Linked DNA regions of Homo sapiens: region 1 is linked to region 2. The links are contacts of gene promoters, found by promoter capture Hi-C in human tissues and cell types (Jung and others, 2019). All regions are on one chromosome and are shown on one strand. The core of a region is centred on a gene start or on the middle of the fragment in contact, and the rest is flanking DNA. Distances in the headings are between cores, read along the strand shown.

Evidence for each region. Contacts are between HindIII fragments. The study calls those that stand out against the background at their distance.
Region 1: a contact is called between a fragment that was not itself captured here and the fragment with the promoter of CHAD in region 2, in 1 of the 25 tissues and cell types used here (spleen).

The regions. Positions count from the first base shown.
Region 1 is chr17:50,625,799-50,630,945 of GRCh38, forward strand. It overlaps LOC101927253 (a long non-coding RNA gene), which reads right to left. Exons shown (of 2, transcript XR_243718.2): 2 at 1,232-1,542. It overlaps CACNA1G (calcium voltage-gated channel subunit alpha1 G), which reads left to right. Exons shown (of 38, transcript NM_018896.5): 38 at 219-1,676. The coding sequence ends at 953. Among named protein-coding and RNA genes, the nearest start is that of ABCC3, 6.5 kb to the right of the region's middle. RefSeq lists an enhancer at 1-523. The HindIII fragment of the contact is 3,018 bases long and covers 1,900-4,917 here.
Region 2 is chr17:50,465,660-50,470,803 of GRCh38, forward strand. CHAD (chondroadherin) reads right to left here and starts at 3,221. Exons shown (of 4, transcript NM_001267.3): 1 at 2,381-3,221; 2 at 48-211. The coding sequence starts at 3,154. The region is part of intron 10 of ACSF2 (acyl-CoA synthetase family member 2); the gene reads left to right. RefSeq lists enhancers at 2,178-3,136, 3,137-4,094. The HindIII fragment of the contact is 15,801 bases long and covers 1-5,144 here.

The DNA of each region.
Region 1 (5,147 bases), core at 2,159-4,658, 160 kb after region 2:
AAGACAGGGTTTAGTGGGGAGAGAGGAGGCATGGTGGACAACAGAGGTCAGGCTGCAATGACCCCTATCTACTAGTAAGAGCGGCTACCAGGACCTCTGCTTAGGATAGTCCTGCTGTGCCTGGTGGTGGTGGGCAGGGGGCACAGCCAGCTTGACAGGAGGGCTAGTCCATGCTGGAGAGGAGACTGCTGGGCTGAGCCCTCCCCCACCCCATATAGGCAGCAATAAGGACTGACTCCTTGGACGTTCAGGGTCTGGGCAGCCGGGAAGACCTGCTGGCAGAGGTGAGTGGGCCCTCCCCGCCCCTGGCCCGGGCCTACTCTTTCTGGGGCCAGTCAAGTACCCAGGCACAGCAGCACTCCCGCAGCCACAGCAAGATCTCCAAGCACATGACCCCGCCAGCCCCTTGCCCAGGCCCAGAACCCAACTGGGGCAAGGGCCCTCCAGAGACCAGAAGCAGCTTAGAGTTGGACACGGAGCTGAGCTGGATTTCAGGAGACCTCCTGCCCCCTGGCGGCCAGGAGGAGCCCCCATCCCCACGGGACCTGAAGAAGTGCTACAGCGTGGAGGCCCAGAGCTGCCAGCGCCGGCCTACGTCCTGGCTGGATGAGCAGAGGAGACACTCTATCGCCGTCAGCTGCCTGGACAGCGGCTCCCAACCCCACCTGGGCACAGACCCCTCTAACCTTGGGGGCCAGCCTCTTGGGGGGCCTGGGAGCCGGCCCAAGAAAAAACTCAGCCCGCCTAGTATCACCATAGACCCCCCCGAGAGCCAAGGTCCTCGGACCCCGCCCAGCCCTGGTATCTGCCTCCGGAGGAGGGCTCCGTCCAGCGACTCCAAGGATCCCTTGGCCTCTGGCCCCCCTGACAGCATGGCTGCCTCGCCCTCCCCAAAGAAAGATGTGCTGAGTCTCTCCGGTTTATCCTCTGACCCAGCAGACCTGGACCCCTGAGTCCTGCCCCACTTTCCCACTCACCTTTCTCCACTGGGTGCCAAGTCCTAGCTCCTCCTCCTGGGCTATATTCCTGACAAAAGTTCCATATAGACACCAAGGAGGCGGAGGCGCTCCTCCCTGCCTCAGTGGCTCTGGGTACCTGCAAGCAGAACTTCCAAAGAGAGTTAAAAGCAGCAGCCCCGGCAACTCTGGCTCCAGGCAGAAGGAGAGGCCCGGTGCAGCTGAGGTTCCCGACACCAGAAGCTGTTGGGAGAAAGCAATACGTTTGTGCAGAATCTCTATGTATATTCTATTTTATTAAATTAATTGAATCTAGTATATGCGGGATGTACGACATTTTGTGACTGAAGAGACTTGTTTCCTTCTACTTTTATGTGTCTCAGAATATTTTTGAGGCGAAGGCGTCTGTCTCTTGGCTATTTTAACCTAAAATAACAGTCTAGTTATATTCCCTCTTCTTGCAAAGCACAAGCTGGGACCGCGAGCACATTGCAGCCCCAACGGTGGCCCATCTTCAGCGGAGAGCGAGAACCATTTTGGAAACTGTAATGTAACTTATTTTTTCCTTTAACCTCGTCATCATTTTCTGTAGGGAAAAAAAAAAGAAAAAGAAAAAATGAGATTTTACAAGTGAAATGGAACCTTTTTATATATACATACATACATATCTATCTATCTATCTATATATATATAAAATAAAGTAATTTTCCTAAATAAAAAGCTAATCACGGTCCAGAGTAAAAGCAAAAGGGATGGAGAGTTAGGCACGTCCAGATGGCATTGATGAGAGAGAGATCCTGGAGATGGGGAGTGGGCGGCGGGGAGGGAAGCTTCAGGGCTGCCTCTTTGTGTGTGTATGAGTGTGTATGTGTTTGTGTATATGAGTGCGTGTGTGTATATGAGTGTGAGAGTGTGTGTGTCTGAGAGTGAGAGAACCTGAACCCCTTGCTGTGGAAGGCTGCACCTCTAGCCTGCCCTCCCCAGCCGTGAAGGAGAGGAGGAGCCCCTCCGCCTGGTGCAGGCTGGGGAGGCAGGGTCTCTTCTGCTGCTATCAAAGCTTTACAGCTTCCTCTAGCTAGGCAGCTCAGTGAATGGGAGTAATTCCAGATTAACTCTTATTTCTGCTGACAGCTATCAGCCGCACATTGAAAGCTGGAAATTGGCATAATGAAGCTGTTTTGGTTAATGGGGCCGACTGAGGCTGGGGGAGGTTGCCTCAGAGGCTGCAGATCTGGATCTGTGGGTTGGTGGGGGAGGGGGGAAGTGTTTCTGGGTTTTCCTTCCTGAAGCTTCAGCACGGATTTGCCACACTTCTGGCTGGATGCGTGACCTGAGCTGTCTGGACTTCAGCCTCCTGCCTTGGGGGCGGGCTTAGCTGACTGGCATTACAGGCACTGTCCGATGGGGACCTCGTCCACCTGCCCGCAATGGAATTAAACCGTGTCAACGGAGTGGGCTGTGCTTCCTGAGGATGAGAGTCCAGGGCTGGGCGTCCAGAGGCAACCTCCTGGTGGAGGTGGTAGGGTCAGAGGCCAGGTGCTGAGTGGGGAGCTGGCCCCCTGGGCGGTGATGAGCGAGCGCTCAAGATGTTTACATGCACTGCTGCTGCTGCCTGCCTAGCGGGAGCCAGTGGAGGAGGGAGGTGTGAAGGTGGCCAGGGGCAGGCAGACAGGAAGAGGGGGAGTGGCGTGGCCCAGGCCACCTGTCTGGTGCTACTGCAGACAATATTCTCTTGTCTGAAATCTTGGTGCCAAGAGGTGGTGACCATGGGTCCAGCCAGCCTGTCACCTAGCCACCTCCCAAACATCTGTCCCAATCCCACTCCCTTGAACAGCCCCCTCCCCTCGCCCCCAGGGCCTTCAAACCCCAGGATTGGATTGGGTTTTTGAAACCTCAGTGGCAACGCTCGCTCACAAACCGTCTGATCCGGTCAACTGGGAGCTGGGGGCACCAGGCTGCCGGGCGAGTGGACCTGGAGGCGTTGTCCAGCATTGTTTTCTAAGCTGGGTGAGAGCTTTTCTCATTGCTCTTTTGGACAGAACTCATACCGCTCCTTGAAGCCAAAGCCTGGTTTTATCCTTTTAGGGTGTGCAATAATGTCAAACTTTTTCCTCTGGCCTCCTTGGGTGGGGAGAGGGAGTGCTTGTAGGAGCTGCCATTTAAGATAAAAAAAGCAAAGCTGTACAAAATTCCTAGAGTTCTGTCACCTGGATCTGCAGACTAAGCTTTTATATTTTTGTAGAATTCTATAGCTGTCTATTCCCTAATGACGTTGGAGGGTATGGGGAGGGGGTTCTGGGATCTTTCATTCTCCTAGTGGTTAGAAGATTCTGGGTCAAGGTGAAGCCAGAGAGCTGGACTCCTACCCCTCCCCACTCTTCCAGCACCCCCTCTCCCCGCTCCCGACCACCAGCCCAGCAGCACTAGAGTACTGGAGAGTTGCTTAGGTTGAGTCTTAGCATGCCTGGTTCTTTGTGCGTTCCTCTTCCCCTGGCCTCCTCTTCCCAGTAGGGACCAAGGAATTTGGGGTGAACTTACTATGCTTTTGGGTTGCTCTGTAGAGATCTGCAGGGACCAGCCCAGTGAAAACAAAAAGGTTCCCCTATTCCCTCCCCAGCAGCCCTCTCTGTGGCCTGGAGGGTTTCTCTGGAAGAGGGCAGTGCCTGGAGGGGAGCCTCTGGATAGTGATGTGGAAATATTAACAACAGAGTCAAAGCGGGTATTTTGGGGTAGTCGGGGAGAAAACTGTGACCTCTCCCCCCAATGATGTAAAATCTTTATCAATGATGGAAACTGTTGTGTCTCATTAAAAGGGTTTTGAGGTGGAAAAGCAGCTGCCGCTGGATCTTAATAATAATATCAAACTGCTAACCTCATGCTGCTTGTCTGGGTGGTTATTTGATGCTGCTCTGGGATACATAAGGGGTGGGGGTAGGGGGTGGAGAAAATGAAGGAGGCTGGGATGGGGAGTGGATGGTGGGGGCAGCAGGTCTTGGATGAGGACTCCAGGGGCAGAATGGAACTGGCTAGGGGCTTCAGGGATGTGGGGGCTTTTAGAATTAGGAATATCTACCCTGGTGCCTTTGTCCTCAGCCTTCCCCTTCGGGGTTCAGAAGAAATTGTGACAGCGGCTGTAGGCCCCCACCTCAAGCTTGGCTGTTTCTGCTTCCTCCACCCCCAAGACTCCAGGAAAAGGTCTGTGTGGGGGTGGGGACTGGGAAGAGGAGTGAGCTGAGCTGGGGATAAAAACAAATCTGAGGCTCATATGCAGTCTCTCACTCCTCAACACACCCTAGCAAGGGAAGTCTGATTGCTATTTCTCCATGAGGCAGCGGGGTTCAGAGAGGTTAAGTGAATTGCCCGTGGTCACACAGCCAGGAGATGGCAGAGCTGAGATTTGACCCTACGTCTGGCCAACCTCCAGCCCACACTACTCCTGTCTCTTCTCAGTGTGGAGGAAATGGGGCACGATGGGAAGAATCCTGCTCAAAAAATGACTTGCTGGTGGGCGCTTTTCCAAAGTAGTCACATTCACGTTCATACAAATATGCACACGTGTTCCCCGCATGGCAAACTCAGAGGCTTAGAGAGGCCCCCAGCCTCCCACCTGGTGGGCCACCAGCTTTTGGCCATAGGGAATGGTGGTGAGAGGAGTTCAATCACAGGAGAAGGCATCCCTCAGCTCCAGGCGCTTGTCCAAGAGCTGGCCAAGGGTAGCTCTGCAATCACTGTGGGTTCCCAGGCTCCACCCTTCCGCAGCATAACGCTGCCCTTGAACCCCATGGTACCTGTTCTTTTCCCCATCCCGCCTTCTTCTCTCTTCCTCTCCTCTAACCCTGCCCTACCTAAACCTCACCCACTTTCCAAACAGCTTTCACTCCTATCTCCACCCTAGTCCCCACCTGCCACAGCCTGGTGCCCCATGGCCTATTTTCTCTTCCCTTGGGCCAGCTGAGCAGCCCGTGGAGTGGGGCTGGCAACAGCAGTGCAATGAGGGCATCAGACACCAGGTGGCGGCACAGGGCACCCTCACCTGGTGCCACCTGGTGCCCCTCCTGCAAAGGGACCAAGCCAGGGAGAGGGCACCAACACCGATGGACACCTTCTAGGGACAGGTGCCCTGTATAACCTCAGAAGGAGGAAGCAGGCCTGCAGGGCCCAGTGAAGGACTTTGTGTATGGAGAAGCCCAA
Region 2 (5,144 bases), core at 1,971-4,470:
CTATCACATGAGGGTGGGCTCTGGGAGTGACATGGAAGTGTTCTTACCGCCGAAGGCCCCGGAGCTGGCAGGTACACTTCCAGGGGTTATTGGTAAGGGCGAGGGTCTCCAGGCTGTCGAAGGGGAAGTTGGAGGGTAGCTGGTTCAAGCGGTTGTTCTCCAAATGGACGTGTTTCAGCGTGGTTACACCCAGGAAGGCACCATCTGAGAACTGGGGAGCAAGGTGGGAGCAAGGTGGGAGCAAGGTGGTCATGAGTGAATGAGTAAGCACCCGAGTGCCAGAGGGGCAGGATCCTTCCCTGAACCTGAGCCATAGCACTTTGAGGAGTTTCCCAGTTTTCAAAGCAGTATGACCAAGTGATCTCAGATAATCCAATCTACACAACCCCCTTTGAGACAGATGGTGTTATTTTCTTTTTTTTTTTTTTTTCCTTTTTTTTTTTTTGAGATGGAGTCTCACTGTGTTGCCCAGGCTGGAGCACAGTGGCACGATCTCAGCTCACTGCAAGCTCCGCCTCCCGGGTTCACGCCATTCTCCGGCCTCAGCCTCCTGAGTAGCTGGGACTACAAGTGCCCGCCACCATGCCCGGCTAATTTTTTTGTATTTTTTTAGTAGAGACGCAGTTTCACCATGTTAGCCAGGATGGTCTCGATCTCCTGACCTCGTGATCTACCCGCCTCAGCCTCCCAAAGTGCTGGGATTACAGGCGTGAGCCACCACGCCCAGCCAGGTGGTGTTATTTTCAATATGCAAATGGGGAAACGGAAAAAGCGCAGTCCTTTGCCCTGGGTCACAGCAGTGGGTAAACAGTAGCCACAGGACCACACCCAGCTCCTCTTCCCCTGGCACCACAATCCCTGCACAAACACTGGGACTGTGGGGCTGCCAGAGTTTGGCCCCAGCAATCCAAACTGGTACACGGTGAACTTGGTCTGTGCTTGGTGGAGTGGGCAGTGGGCCCAGGCTCCCCACAGTCCCAGGGTCCCAGGACTTCCCTCAGCTCTGTCCTCACTGCTCCCCCACTGCCAGCCAGACGCTATTTGTGAAGCCACCTTGGTGGAGCCTTTGGCCAGGTTGGACGGCTCCAGAGGAAATGTTCTATTGGTGCCCACACCTTTGCCCAGGCGCCACAATTCCTGTCTGGCCTCCCCTGCCCCAAACCAGCCCCTAATTCGCTGCTCTGCTGCCCACTGAAAGACCACTCTGGCACTGGTGGGCCACAGGGGACTCCAACTTCAGCTGGGGAGAGGCAGGGCTGAAGAAGGGCAGGCTTGAGCAGGCTCCTTCCACCCAGACAAAGGTTGGCTGCTGCCCAAGTGAGATTCTGCCCACATCTCCACACCCGCACCCTTTCCTGTGGCCCACATTGAGGTATGAAGGTCTCCAGTAACCAGACTCTCCTCTACCTTGTTGGTTCCCCACCCAAACCTCCTGGCTGAAGCCCCTGTACCAGGGTGATTTTTCCAGTCCCAGAGAAGGGATTCTGCTCTGATCCAAGGTAGCCCCACCTGGCCAGACACTGGGCACCCCAGGGGAGAAAGGAATGAGTGAGGATGCAGACAGGAGATGGGTCTAGTGACGGAGGAGGGCAAAGGGCAGTTAGCAGTCTGGAGACAGTGAGTCACGCCAGTCTTCTCTGTGGAGAGACACCTGGGGTCTTGGGCCAAGGATTGACAATAGTGGTCTTGCCTTTGCCCCTTCACGGAGCCCATGGGCACGATGCTTGCATCCTGGGGGAGCCCTTGGTCCCACGCCTACTGAGCTGCAATGGACTTGAGAATGCAGTGAATTGTGTCTGTGTGGATTGGGCAGGGCCATCCACCAGGGCCTCTATGGGGCATGGAGAATGTCTTCCTCAGGCATTTGCTTCCCCTCACTCCCCAGTCCCCCACTCCCCCTTAGCACACATGCACAGCCCCCACCAGGAACAGGGTCTCTTTGTGGGCCTGATCTGCCCAGCTCCTCTGGAAGGCTCCTCAATAAACAAACCTTCCTTTATGGGGTGGTAGGTTTACTGGAGACGGGAAAAACAGCAGAGGAGGGGTGGAAGGCCCAACAGGAAGAGGTGGCTGCTGCTCACAGTTGGGGGTTTGGAAGCACTGGAGATGGCCCTAGGGGGCCTTTTGTGGGGCCAGGGCAGTCCCACTCCTTTTATATGTAAGAATCCTAGGAGGGCAGTGGTCGAGACTGGCAGCAGACAGGGATTAGGGTAGGGATGTGACAAGGCGAGGAAGGGAGGTGGCAGAGCTGCTCACCTTGGAGATAGCCAGAGGGACAGGGAACCTGGGGACGGGGGATGGTGCCAGCTGTGGCCCTGGCTCCTGGGGCCTCCAGGAAGGGAAGAAGGAACCAGGGCAGAGCCCACAGCCAGGAGCTCACCTTCTCCAGGTTGGTGTTGTCCAGCCAGAGGGTCTCCAGGTATCTGCCAAAGGACTGGAAGGCATTGTCCGGGATGCTTTTCAGGGGGTTGTGGGACAGCTTCAGCTCCTCCACCACCCGTAGCTTGCTCAGGGCAGCTGAGGGGTAGCTGGACAGCTGGTTCCTGTCCACGTGGAATTTGGCGAGGTTCTCCACGTCGTCCAGGGCCCCGGGCTGCAGGGAGCTCAACGCGTTTTCCGACAGGTAGAGCCAGCGCAGGTCCTTGGCTCCCTGGAAGGCGCCTGCGCGCAGCTCACGGATCTTGTTGTTGTTGAGCTGCAAGATGAAGAGGTTGACCAGCGGGGAGAGCAACCCCCGGGGCAGCTCAGTGACCTTGTTGTGGTCCAGGTAGAGGTAGGTCAGCTCGGTCAGGTCGTCGAAGGCACCTGCGCGCAGCACGCGGATGTCGTTATGGGACAGGTACAAGTAGATAAGTTGCTTGAGGCCGCGGAAGGCACCGGCGGCCACCTCGCGGATCTGGCAGTGCTGCAGGTGCAATGACACGAGGTTCGGCATGGCCCGGAACGAATTGGCAGCCAGCACCGGGAAGTTGTTGCGCTGTAGGTTGAGCAGCTTGGTCTTCTCTGACACCTTGGGGATCTTCTGCAGCCCCACCTTGTCGCAGATGACGTGCTGCAGGTCGCTGTGGCAGTGGCAGTTCTGGGGGCAGGCGGCCAGCGCCGGCAGCAGACCAGCCAGGAGGCCGAGGCTGAGCAAGAGCATTGGGCGGACCATGGCTGGGACGCCTGGGGCCGGGGCTGGGGGCAGCAGCGGCGGCGGGGCGCGGGCAGCGGCGAGTCCTAGGCGCTCGGGTCTGCCGCCCTCTTTATACGGTGGCCCTGACCGCAGCCGGCAGCCGAGCCAGCTCCTACGTGGAGCATCGAGGCCACTGGGCTTAACTCGCTCGCGCCCAGAGATGCGCCCCCGCCCTCCACGGGGAAGGGGGCGGGGCCGTTCCCCCAGCCGGCTACCGTGCATGAGGGGGTGGGACCGTGGCCCCCGAGCCCCGAGCCCTGAGCCCCGGCTGTAGCCCCCCGCTCTCCTATGGTGCTCCTCTGCCTACCGCCTTTCCCGGGGCTTTTCTGGGAAGGGGGAATAGTTATGTCTGGAGCCCCGAGTTTACATCGGAGAGAGGGAGGCGTTCCCTCAACTTATTTGTTTGCTCAGGTTTGAGCCTCCACGCCGCGCCATCCACACACGCTCGGCCGGGTGCCCTGGATGCGAGGCGGGAGGAAGCGGGGCCGGACAGCTGGATGCGTCTCCCTGCGGTGGGCCAGCTGCCTGCGCTTTAAAGGGGCGCTTGTGCGGCGCCTGCCGAGCGTGAGAGCCGCCCCGGCGTCGGTCTCCCACTTCAGACTCGACGCGCCGAAGCTGGCCCTGGGTAGACCCGAGCTCCTTCCCCACCCTCGGGCGCGCCCCCACCCCTCTCTTCCAACCCCGCTTGCGTTTCTGTCGCCGGCGCCCTCATCCCCTTTTTCCACCGCTGAAGGCTAAGCAGAGAAGTGGGAAGTGGGGGAGAGTGGCCCACAGGAATGGCAAACACACCTGGAAACCACAGGCCACAAGCACAGTCGCACCATCCCCCCTCCTTCATCGCCCCGAAATATCTCCATCCCTCATCCCCAACCCTAGTGGTCAGGACCCGCCCCTGAGGGGTCTCAGGGTGGCGGCTGAGTGGCGCCGAGGTGTACTTGGCAGATGCCACATTCGGGCGGTGGCCCCAGGACTGTGAGGAGGGGTGCGGGAGGGGGTGGGGCAGGTCGAGGGACCAGCCCTGGACGGCTCTGGCTGCCAGACCCTAAGTTCTGTGGGCAGTCCCGCCCCAGCCCGCCAGATTTCTGTGTGCCCACTTGCCAGCCACGATGTCCGGATTCCTGTGGAAAGGGGAGGGTGAGCAGGCAGGGTCACAGCTCTGGCCTCAGGGTGAGCTCCAAGCTGCCTGGCACAGGATATTGTCTGTGATGAGGGGTGGAAGGAGAAACCAGAACCCACATTGAACCAAACCCCAGCCGTGCCAGAGCCAGAGCAGCTGATATGGGGGAAGCTTGGTGCAGGGAGGAGGATGGATGAGATCTGGTATCCGTTGATTAAAGGGGACCTAGGATACGGGGTAACTAGCCTCTCTTCCCTTACCCAGTACCCTCGTGTTGGGGCCTGGTTTCCAGGGCCTGCCCTTTTCCCAAACCTCTCTGCCCCTTGCCTCTAGGATAGGAGGGTCATACTTGGCCTAGACCATTCCTTGATGGTATTTAGGCTTCTCCAAGGCTGGCTTCTGGTTTTTCTGTTGCTCAGGCTTTCCAACCACTGGAAATGGGGGAGGTGGGGTGGGGGTACCACTGGTTTTTAAAATCACTGCTTAGGTTGTTTTTTTATTTTGATGGAAATAAATTCACGGGAAACTCTCCAGAGCTTGGGGGACGCCTGCCCCAAGGCCAGGCACTTGTTCAGGGTTTGCAGAATGCGGGGGTGGGGTTGTGTCTGTGCCACTCCTAGCTGGGCCAAGGCAGGCTGGCTTTCTCATCAAGTTTATGGGGCCTTCAGCTTGGAAGGGAGGAGCCGGGGATGTGGCCTGAAATCAGGAAGGTGGGGTTAAGGCAGCCAGGGGATGGGGGGAGAAGTGTGGGGTGTTGGTAATACCGGAGCCACAGGCACAGACAGGTGGCTGCTCCAGGGAAACGGGGCACTGAGAGAGCTCCAGCTGGAAGAGAATGGTGTCCCTGCTCTC